Linked DNA regions of Homo sapiens: regions 2 and 3 are each linked to region 1. Evidence: promoter capture Hi-C in 16 types of primary human blood cells and fetal thymus (Javierre and others, 2016). All regions are on one chromosome and are shown on one strand. The core of a region is centred on a gene start or on the middle of the fragment in contact, and the rest is flanking DNA. Distances in the headings are between cores, read along the strand shown. Region 1 holds the start of NEUROG2 (neurogenin 2). Region 2 overlaps ALPK1 (alpha kinase 1). Region 3 overlaps ALPK1 (alpha kinase 1).

The links. The method cuts DNA at HindIII sites, captures the fragments that hold promoters and counts their contacts. A CHiCAGO score of 5 or more calls a contact.
Region 2: a fragment that was not itself captured here is called in contact with the fragment with the promoter of NEUROG2 in region 1 in 1 of 17 cell types (activated CD4 T cells); the score reaches 5.7 in activated CD4 T cells.
Region 3: a contact is called between a fragment that was not itself captured here and the fragment with the promoter of NEUROG2 in region 1, in 11 of 17 cell types (fetal thymus, megakaryocytes, activated CD4 T cells and 8 more). The highest score is 7.1, in fetal thymus.

What each region holds. Positions count from the first base shown.
Region 1 is chr4:112,514,861-112,517,980 of GRCh38, reverse strand. It overlaps NEUROG2 (neurogenin 2), which reads left to right and starts at 1,801. Exons shown (of 2, transcript NM_024019.4): 1 at 1,801-2,134; 2 at 2,505-3,120. The coding sequence starts at 2,506. It overlaps NEUROG2-AS1 (NEUROG2 and ZGRF1 antisense RNA 1), which reads right to left and starts at 2,602. Exons shown (of 4, transcript NR_161159.1): 1 at 2,341-2,602. It overlaps LOC124900760 (a long non-coding RNA gene), which reads right to left and starts at 1,176. Exons shown (of 2, transcript XR_007058231.1): 1 at 942-1,176; 2 at 1-173. RefSeq lists enhancers at 580-699, 800-899, 150-1,030 and silencers at 1,040-1,319, 2,640-2,709, 2,970-3,120. The HindIII fragment of the contact is 11,776 bases long and covers 1-3,120 here.
Region 2 is chr4:112,368,565-112,371,847 of GRCh38, reverse strand. All of the region lies in intron 2 of ALPK1 (alpha kinase 1), which reads right to left. Among named protein-coding and RNA genes, the nearest start is that of ALPK1, 73 kb to the right of the region's middle. The HindIII fragment of the contact is 2,981 bases long and covers 309-3,283 here.
Region 3 is chr4:112,342,921-112,346,101 of GRCh38, reverse strand. The region is part of intron 2 of ALPK1 (alpha kinase 1); the gene reads right to left. Among named protein-coding and RNA genes, the nearest start is that of ALPK1, 47 kb to the right of the region's middle. The HindIII fragment of the contact is 4,801 bases long and covers 1-3,181 here.

The DNA.
Region 1 (3,120 bases), core at 552-3,051:
ATATGAAAACACAAACATCAAAGAGCAAAGTGGAAATCATGATAGTTTTCAAGTAATTCCAAGACAGAAGGAAGTCTGAAGTTTGAAGAACTGCAATGGGTAATGCTCCTTTTCACAAGTTTCTAATTTTCATTTTCTTTACTTTGTGCCTTCCAATCCTCCTTGTTACCTCCCTGAAGAAAACATTAAACAAATTAAAGCCATGCCAAAATACTAACAGCTAATTTAACCACCCCGTCTTTGGAATACAGCTTGTTTCTAAGTCCTACAAACTGAGGGAGACAGAAACCAGAAGACAGCATTCTCTTTCCCTTCTACTCTTCCACTCCTAACACTCCAACTGTGCCTTGCCTAAAGTTAATTTGCAAAGGGGATCTCAAGGGACGCCACTCCGGTCTACTGAAGTCCGGATCCATCCCCATGTCGACAAGAGGGTGGGCATGAACGTGGGGAAAGTGGGGAGGGCTAACGAGCAATTGAGAACAAGTTTCCCCCGAGGTCCAGTAGCCCTTCAGCTCTTTTTTCTCATTGAAAAGCAGAATTGGGAAGATGGGCCCCTTGTCCCTACAACGCCCCCCAGCGCGGAGCAGAGGTCACAGAAATGTCAGCGCAGCGCATTTGCTTGCAGGAGCAGCAGCTCTGCCGCTCCTCCCGCTCGGTTCGCTGCCACCCACGCAGGAAGCCTCCTTGCTGTCCCTCCAGGCTATAAACTGGGTTAACCCCAGCAAAACCTGCATCAGTGCCCGGAGCCTCAGTTTCCTGTATGTAAAATGAGGGGGATCCTTTCAGCTCTAACATGTGAGTGATTTCATTCTCACATCCTCTAAAAGCTCATCAACTGCTCCCCTATCCGACCTCCCCTCCCAAGAGACGCCTGTTTGAATCCCCAGTGTCCTCTCCCTTCACTCTCCCACGCCAGTTTCGACGGACCCCAAACACACTTGTTCACGAGGTGTCCACATCTCTCCATCCACGCCATTCTCCTCCCCTAACCAAATGAATCCATTTTAAAATCGTTTACTATTTGATACAACCCCTAAGAGGCTTTGCCAAGAGACGCCCGGCAGCACCACAGGGCTAACTGCTTTCCCCGGGATTCTGACCCCCATTAACTAATTCCTAGTTCCCATCACCCGGGAGTTAGGAGGGCCGGCAGCGCCGGGTGCGGTGCCTGCGCGCGCGCCGGGCGGGGGGAGCCTCGGCGGCAGCGAGGACGAAGGCGGGGGCGGTAGCACGGGTCCCCCCATCCGCCCCCAGCGCTCGGGCCCCTAATGAGCTGCTGAAAGGGAGCGGGCTCCGGTGCGCGTGGCTCGCAGGCCTCCCGGAGTCCAGGGCGCCCTGATTGGCCAGCTGCGCCTCGCGACCTCCATTCATTAATAAATTAGCGGCACGCTCCAGCCGAGCGCGAGCCACCAATCACAATGGACAGCGGCGGCGACAACAGCCGCAGCTTGAGCCTCTGCGGCCGCTGCGGCTTCGCCAGCTCCGGCCGCAGCCCGGAGCTCCAACAGGAGCTTTAGAACCATTTTATGTTGATTAGATAAAGGGGGAAAAGAGAGGCGGGGGTGGTGGGAGGAGGAGGATGGATGGCAGGGCCAAGGGAGGGGGAAAGGCGGTGAAGAAAGAGGAAGAAATGAATGATGATAATGCAATGAAAAGAATAAGCCAGAGGAGGGAAAAGCGGGGGAGAAGGGGGGCAGGACTGACAGGAGGAGGAGGCGGTGGCGGGGGAGGAGGGGGCCCGGGGCAGATCTGATTGTTTTCTTGGTGGTATATAAGGGGTTTTAAGGAGAGTCGTGTGCCAGACACGCAGCCACTGAACCACAAGCAGCTTCGCGTTAACTGGAGTGCCTGGGAGTCGCGTGCCAGGAGCCGCACGGCCAGGGACTGACTGACAGACAGACACGCACCACCACCACAACACACGAGACCCGGGCGGGCCGCCGCCGCCGCCGCCGGGGCTCTTGGCAAACTCGCCGGTCGCAGAGGTCCCCCGCGGAGCTGCGCCACAGTAGCGCCGGGCTTGCAGCTTTCACGCCGGGCGAAGGACCCGGCGCTGCGCTCGCAGCTGCGCGGAGATTCCCGGCACAGGCCAAAGTCACAGCAACGCTGAGGCACAGTTAGAGCCAACTAAGTAAGTATTCGAGCCACCGCTTCCAACTACGCAGGTGGTTTCCCCGCACTCAGTCCAACCACACCCGCACGCCCTCTGCTCCGCGCAGAATCTTTGTCGCGGAGGCCGCAGTCCCTTCTCGGGGAGGGAACGCAGGACCGCCCGCGGAGGGCAGGACCCGGCTGACTGGCAGCAGGGTCACAGCGAGCGCTAGCGGCGCTCCTGACCTTGGTTAGCACTGCCTGGGTTTCTTCCTTCGCCTTCCTGCTCCGCGCCATTCGGAGCTGGTCTTCTCGGGTGCGCGCCGGAGCACGCCCCTGTGACACGAAGATCGCGCCTCTGTTTCTTTCCTTACACCTCACTGCCTTTTTCCCCTTTCTCTCTTCGGTAGGATGTTCGTCAAATCCGAGACCTTGGAGTTGAAGGAGGAAGAGGACGTGTTAGTGCTGCTCGGATCGGCCTCCCCCGCCTTGGCGGCCCTGACCCCGCTGTCATCCAGCGCCGACGAAGAAGAGGAGGAGGAGCCGGGCGCGTCAGGCGGGGCGCGTCGGCAGCGCGGGGCTGAGGCCGGGCAGGGGGCGCGGGGCGGCGTGGCTGCGGGTGCGGAGGGCTGCCGGCCCGCACGGCTGCTGGGTCTGGTACACGATTGCAAACGGCGCCCTTCCCGGGCGCGGGCCGTCTCCCGAGGCGCCAAGACGGCCGAGACGGTGCAGCGCATCAAGAAGACCCGTAGACTGAAGGCCAACAACCGCGAGCGAAACCGCATGCACAACCTCAACGCGGCACTGGACGCGCTGCGCGAGGTGCTCCCCACGTTCCCCGAGGACGCCAAGCTCACCAAGATCGAGACCCTGCGCTTCGCCCACAACTACATCTGGGCACTCACCGAGACCCTGCGCCTGGCGGATCACTGCGGGGGCGGCGGCGGGGGCCTGCCGGGGGCGCTCTTCTCCGAGGCAGTGTTGCTGAGCCCGGGAGGAGCCAGCGCCGCCCTGAGCAGCAGCGGA
Region 2 (3,283 bases), core at 550-3,049, 150 kb after region 1:
TTCCCTAGCTCTTTTGAGAACCCTTACATATCGTTTTTATGTATGTATATTTTTGTGTGGTTAGAAATATTGGCTTGAATTTTAGAAGTCGATTACTAAATATACTTATTTGCTTTGGTTTCCTCACTTGCAACACCAATTCCTGATGCACAAGATCATAAATCTCTTCCTTTTGTCTAAGTGATGTGAAAGAGAGATAGGGCATGCAGTTGTATGAAGGCAAACAACAGGACTTGACCTAATCACTTGAGTAAAGCTAGGGCAGATCAAGGGAGGCTTCTTTGAGAATGTGATGCCTGAATTAAGCTTTGAAAGAGTGATAAGGCTTAATGAAGTTAAAATGGTGGGGAATGGCTGTTATGTAGAAGGAACTAGAGAGGGAATGAAAGACAGAGAGGTTGGCTGAACTAGCGATAAAAGGAGAAAGTTGATATGAGGTGGGACTGGAGAGGTAAATACGGGCTGTGCAGGCCTATGTGTGCCTGGTAAAAAATTGTATCTTCACCTTAAGAGTGCTAGGAAACTACTGGTAGCAGGAGGACCAGGGTCAGATGTGCATTTGGAAAAAATCACTCTGTTTTAGCTGTAGTGCGTACGTTAGGGTGGGGGTTTGCCGGGAGGTAACTGCAGGAAGATCAGTTAGGTATAATTGCAAAAATTCACGTGGAAAGTATCAGGACTTTCGACCAGAGCGATAGTATTAGAGATGTAGAAAACTGGACAGAATTGAGAGCTGTCTGGGGAATAAATGCAATATTGGTATTGGATAGATATGAATGTTATTAAGAATGAGTATCAGTTTCTCCTTCACCATAGCTCAAAACTGAGTGGACAATGTTACCATGTTTTGAGACAAGAAGCGTAGAAGAGATCTTCCAGGAAAAGACATAAATGCATCTATTCTGTATTTCTACATATAAAAGTAAGTTAGATAAATCATATCATCCACAATAAGAAACCATATTTTAGCCAAGACAACATTTCTAAAAAGAAGAAGAGATTTCCAAGGTAATTCATGTTTAGTACTTGCAATTCCCCAGAAATGTACTGAAGACATTCTTCATACTTTTTGAAAGTCACAGCATTTTCCCTTTTCTCTGTAGAATTCAGAGGAGACAATAGGAAGAAAATACTGTAACATGAGAAACGCTTTGGAATCCAACCATCTGTCCAGACTTGTATGGCTCATTGTTAGGCATAACAGAGGCTGGAGCCCAGGAACTTTCCTTCAGGCAACAGTCCTGCTGGAAATTTTGGTCAACTTCATTTATAAAGGAATCATTTTCAATCTCAACACATATCAGTTTTTCCTCCCCTGAACTGTGGCATTCTGTGAGCTGTATATTGTTTTTACATTTAAACAATGGGAATTCCCCAGTATGTTTGGTAATCAATGAATTACTTTTTCTCTTTTAACATCCCTCCCCTGTATTTTTTTTTTCCTTAAAAATCAAATAGAAAGGGTCCAGGAAAAGCAATCAGACCATAAAAACAGATAATTCTGGAATAAATACCCAAAAAAGTTAGAGTGATACACTTTAAGGCACATGTGCACACTCACAGCTAAGGGGTCATGTGTTTATACATGCTGTATGTGATTTTGATATACAAATTCTTCAGTTCTATTGGTAACTTAGAATTTAGTTGAGTGGCTTAGTTATGGGATAATTGACAAATCAGCTATTATAAAAAGTAACCAAACCAGTGGATTATTCAAAGCTCCATTTCTTTTAGCATCTGTGTTTGAGTCTTTTTCACTGGACAATTAGTACCCCTATTAGGGAATATGTCAAGGAAAATAAAATGACTCCAGAGATATTCCATTGTCTACTGGTTGCCACTGCTATTATAACCCACTAGCCAACTAGTCAGAATCCCCAAGCTAGAAGATGTGGAGAAAGGTAAAGAAATATGAGCGATGATCTTTACTGTCAAGGAATTTACAATATAATTAGAAGGATAAGATGCAAATATACTAAAAGGTAAACTAGATAAATATACAGGGCATATAATACACAATTGTACTCTGCAAGCTCAATTTAAATTATCTATGTTGGAATTCAATTAACCCTTGGTTAGATTCATAAGCAAGCCCACAGAGCCTATTTAATTCATATGTACATGAATAATTATTATAAAACAAATTTTCTTTTCTTTTTCTTTTTGAGACCGAGTATCACTCTGTCACCCAGGCTGGAGTGGAGTGGTGCAATCTCGGCTCACTGCAACCCTCTGCCTCCTGGGTTCAAGCGATTCTTGTGCCTCAGCCTCTGAGTAGCTGGGATTACAGGCATGCACCACCATGCCCAGCTAATCTAAAACGTCTTTTTAATCTACACTCATTTCTCATATTGTTTCTATAGGAAAAGGTATTCTGGTCTCTAATGTACAACAAGAATACATTTCTCTAATCAGGCACCAAGCAATGACAATCCAGCTGTTCCCACCATTTCACTCTTCTCTGAGCACCCATAGACATAAACTATCACCATATTGCCTCTTGCACTGATTGGCAGTAGAAGTGGGGAAACAAATGGAGAAAGAGGCAGCTGACTGGAGAGTAAGGCAAGTGTGGGGCTCAGAAAGATATTATTGGGTAACAGGCATTTGTCAGCATTTTAAAACTGCATTAAAAGGGAGAAGGCAACTTCTAAGTCACCAAAAACATAAAAAAGTAGACTTCTATTTCTAGCATTGAGGAAGACTATCTAACACTCCCACTGAAAACAATAAAAAATGCTGCAAAAACATTTTAAATCTCTAAAATATGTCAATAAAATGTCAAGAGAGGAAGCAGTACTCAGAAAACAAAAAAAGAAGTAAAGGCTGAAACCTAAAAAGTTACCTGCAATATAGAAGCTAGCCGTTGCCTTGATTGTATTTGCCAAACTGTGAACTTAAAACTGGTTTCACTGTCTTGTAAGGTGAGAGGGGAGAAAATGAAACCAAAGGCCTTAACTGAGGTAGGAATTTAAGTGGAGACTGCACACCCCATGCATAAAACTGAGATCCTAAAAGGTCGCACCTTCAGTATAAGAGTGAGCTAAAAAATAAATCCTCATCCTCTCCCCTCACCTCCCAGGAAAATTGTCTGTGGCAAAACATGCTGCTTGATGGAGGGGAACAAAAATTTTTCCCTTGAGAATTTGAAGCCACAAAGTCCATAACACCTCTAGCTAATGATTAATTTAAAATAAATTATTCAAAATGATTAGGTTAGTAGTGTTCCCAGTCAACTGGTGTGACTAAATATAATCCTTTCTTTAAAAAATTAACCTCAATC
Region 3 (3,181 bases), core at 445-2,944, 170 kb after region 1:
CACCTGAGGTTGGGAGTTCGAGACCAGCCTGATCAACATGGAGAAACCCCATCTCTACTAAAAATACAAAATTAGCCTGGCATGGCAGCGCACGCCTGTAATCCCAGGTACTCAGGAGGCTGAGACAGGAGAATTGCTTGAACCCGGGAGACAAAGGTTGCAGTGAGCCGAGATTGCACCATTGCACTCCAGCCTGGGCAACAAGAGTGAAACTCCAAGAGTTCATATCGTTTAGGGATACATTCTGAAATACTTAGAAATGAAATTATATGGAGTCTGAGATTTGTTTCAAAAGAATTTGAGGCATGGAGCTGGGGAGAAATTAAAGATGTAAATTAGTCAAGGTTGGCTATGGACTATTAAATGTTGAAGCTACATAAGAGTACATGAAGTTTTTACATTGCTCCCTCTACTTTTGTAACAACATATTCGAAATTTTTAATAATAAAAAATTTAAAAATTCTCTTTTGAGGACCCCAACAAAAAGGAATGGTCTTGATGAATTTTGAGAGGCAGCAAGAGACCGTTCTGAAATTATTTGAAATCTCCTCTTCCCTGGTTTAGATAACCAACAAAATTGGGCTTCGGCCTCCCTAATATGACCACTACTCTGCAAAATGAAGCTACTGCTTTATCCAATTCTGTAATTAAGTCCAGATTATGCATATTTGGAGTATCTGCTTACTGTGTTGCCAACAACACATTGTATTTTTAATCAGGGCCCCATTCCACCCACATCCACATCATGTAATGCTTCTAGGTTACTGTGCCTCATTGTCCTGTTAGTATGTACTTAGAAATCACAGCTGAACTTTAATATTATCTTAAGCAAAATACAAACAAAAAGTTAAATGTGGTGCAAAAATAATCATACCATATACTTCAAAGCCATTAGTATGGGTAAATGAGCACTGTCTATAAAAACACGAGAAGCACGCCCCCTATTAACACTGTCTTGGGAAATCAGAGGCTACAACTCTGAATGAGCATGGCAGCCATGCCTACTTTTACCGAAACCAACACACTTCTATTATTCTACTTTCTACAGAATTAAAAAATTAAACAGCTGACAACAAAAATTCTAAACAGTGGGAAAGAAAATCTCCAACTTCATTGATCTTTAAACATTTTTTAAATACGAAAAAGTAGTCTGGTGAGTTGAATGCTTAGAGGTTTTGAACCAAATTAACTAACATTTTAAATCTGTAATTTGCTGTCACAGGTACCACCAAAAGACAAGGTGGAGAGGGAAAATTGCTATTGGTTAAATACTTTCTGTACTTTAGGTGCTATGCTGTGCACCTCAGACACAAAACTTTGTGATATTGGCTTTATGATCCCCACTTTAGAGATGAGAAAGTTGAGGGTCATGGAGGTTAAGTAACTTTCCCAAGGTCACATACTAAACAAGGTGTGTATTCAGAATTTCCAGGAGTCTTTGACCCCATGAATGCTTTTAAAACCATTTGCCTTCCAGCCTACTTACACAGTCCTGAATATTTCAAAATGTATCAATACATTGAAAGATGTAACCCAAGTCCTTTTTAATGCTCTTAGACTTCCAATAAGATAATTCTATGAATTATTTTCTATGTATATATCACATATGTCTTCTTCCAATTTACTGATGAATCAATTTCTACCTAGCCTGATCCAAATTATCAAACTCCATACTTTAACTATACTAGAAAGAGACAGACAAAAAGTCAGAAGTCTAATTCAACTGTTCAGTCCCACTATTTTCACATTGGAAAGATCATTGCTTACAACTGAGCTCTCCCTAGACTTCCACTCGCAGCAGTTCAGGCTGGAACGTGCTCTCCTGTCACACTGTCTTCTCCAAGTGCGAGGGAGTTTTGTCTAGTAAGAGATAATTAAAGACATGGCAGTGCCACTTGCTAGGATTTCACTCTTTCTCTTTTACTTCTTATAAAAGAAGAAACTTCAGTTTAAAGATTAGATTTTTTCCCCGCTTTTCTAAAGCTGGGTATACCAACTGGCATCGGCTGTATTAAAATCAGGAGAAACCTCAATCAAAAAGCCTCTCTCGGAAGGCAGGCTTTCTTGTTAATATGCACCAACATGAAAGGCTTTCTTTTCATCCTATACAACTACAGTGTGTGTAAATTGCAGGGGGCTCATTGGCATAAATCTCGCCTGCGACCTCTGAGGTAAACTGGATTTACATTACTTTCTGACAAGAATTAAATGAAGGCCTTGTGGATATATGAACAGCCTTCTAGGCTGCAACAGATGGGCATGAATGTGCTCCCTAGGAAAACTATCAGTGACATCTGTGTCCTCCAAATTCTGGTGGTCTCAGCCAATTAACGGGGGTAGGGGGGAGAAGGGGGGGAAAGGGTGGGGGTTGGGAGGCCACAGCACAACCCCCAGCCAAAACCCAGGCAGAAGTGTTTGTGTTTGGAGATGGGATCAGGCTGGCCTGCAGCAGCGAGGTTAGCACTTTATTGTTATCATTCAAATGGAGAATGTGGCTTACAAGCTATTTGTATACCACAGCGAGGATAATATGATTTTTCTCATTTGACCGGAGGAGATGGCCCTCTCTTGCAGCTGATATCATATTTCAGTGCATTCTCTTTGAGACGGGTATTTACTTTTGTCTCTTCCGAGGCAGGCTGAGGGTGTTGCTGTCTGCCAGTTTCTGTAGTGCATTCACTAGTCACAAAGCAGGTGAACTCTAAGACGACACAGAGATCTTTCCCCAAAACACTCTCCTTCATAGTCTACTTCTTTCTTTCTTCAAAATGGCATTTACTGATTTCACCAAAAATTAAAAAATAATCAAAATCAAGGTTTTCTAGTTAAAACGAAGTCAAGAGAAATGACATCAGATATCTTGAATGAAGTGGTGGAGGAGTCCTTCAAAGGATACGATGAACCGTGAACCCCACTGTCTGAATTTACCAGGTCTCAGCACGTCAGTCCCTGTGTGTTTAATGTGCAGGCAGGAGGAAAACTGGAGAAGCCAGGACAGAAGATAAGATTCCTCTCTGGCCCCTCTCCTTTGCTGCAATCTCTTGGCCCACTTGCTTGGACTGTGTAGGGCAGGAGACCAGGACTGGGGAGCTGAAGGGATGGAAGGGGAGAGAAGAACTAACATTTACTTGTTCTGTACCAGGAGGAATCAGGAGAAGCGTATGTAGGTATTCCAGGTCCC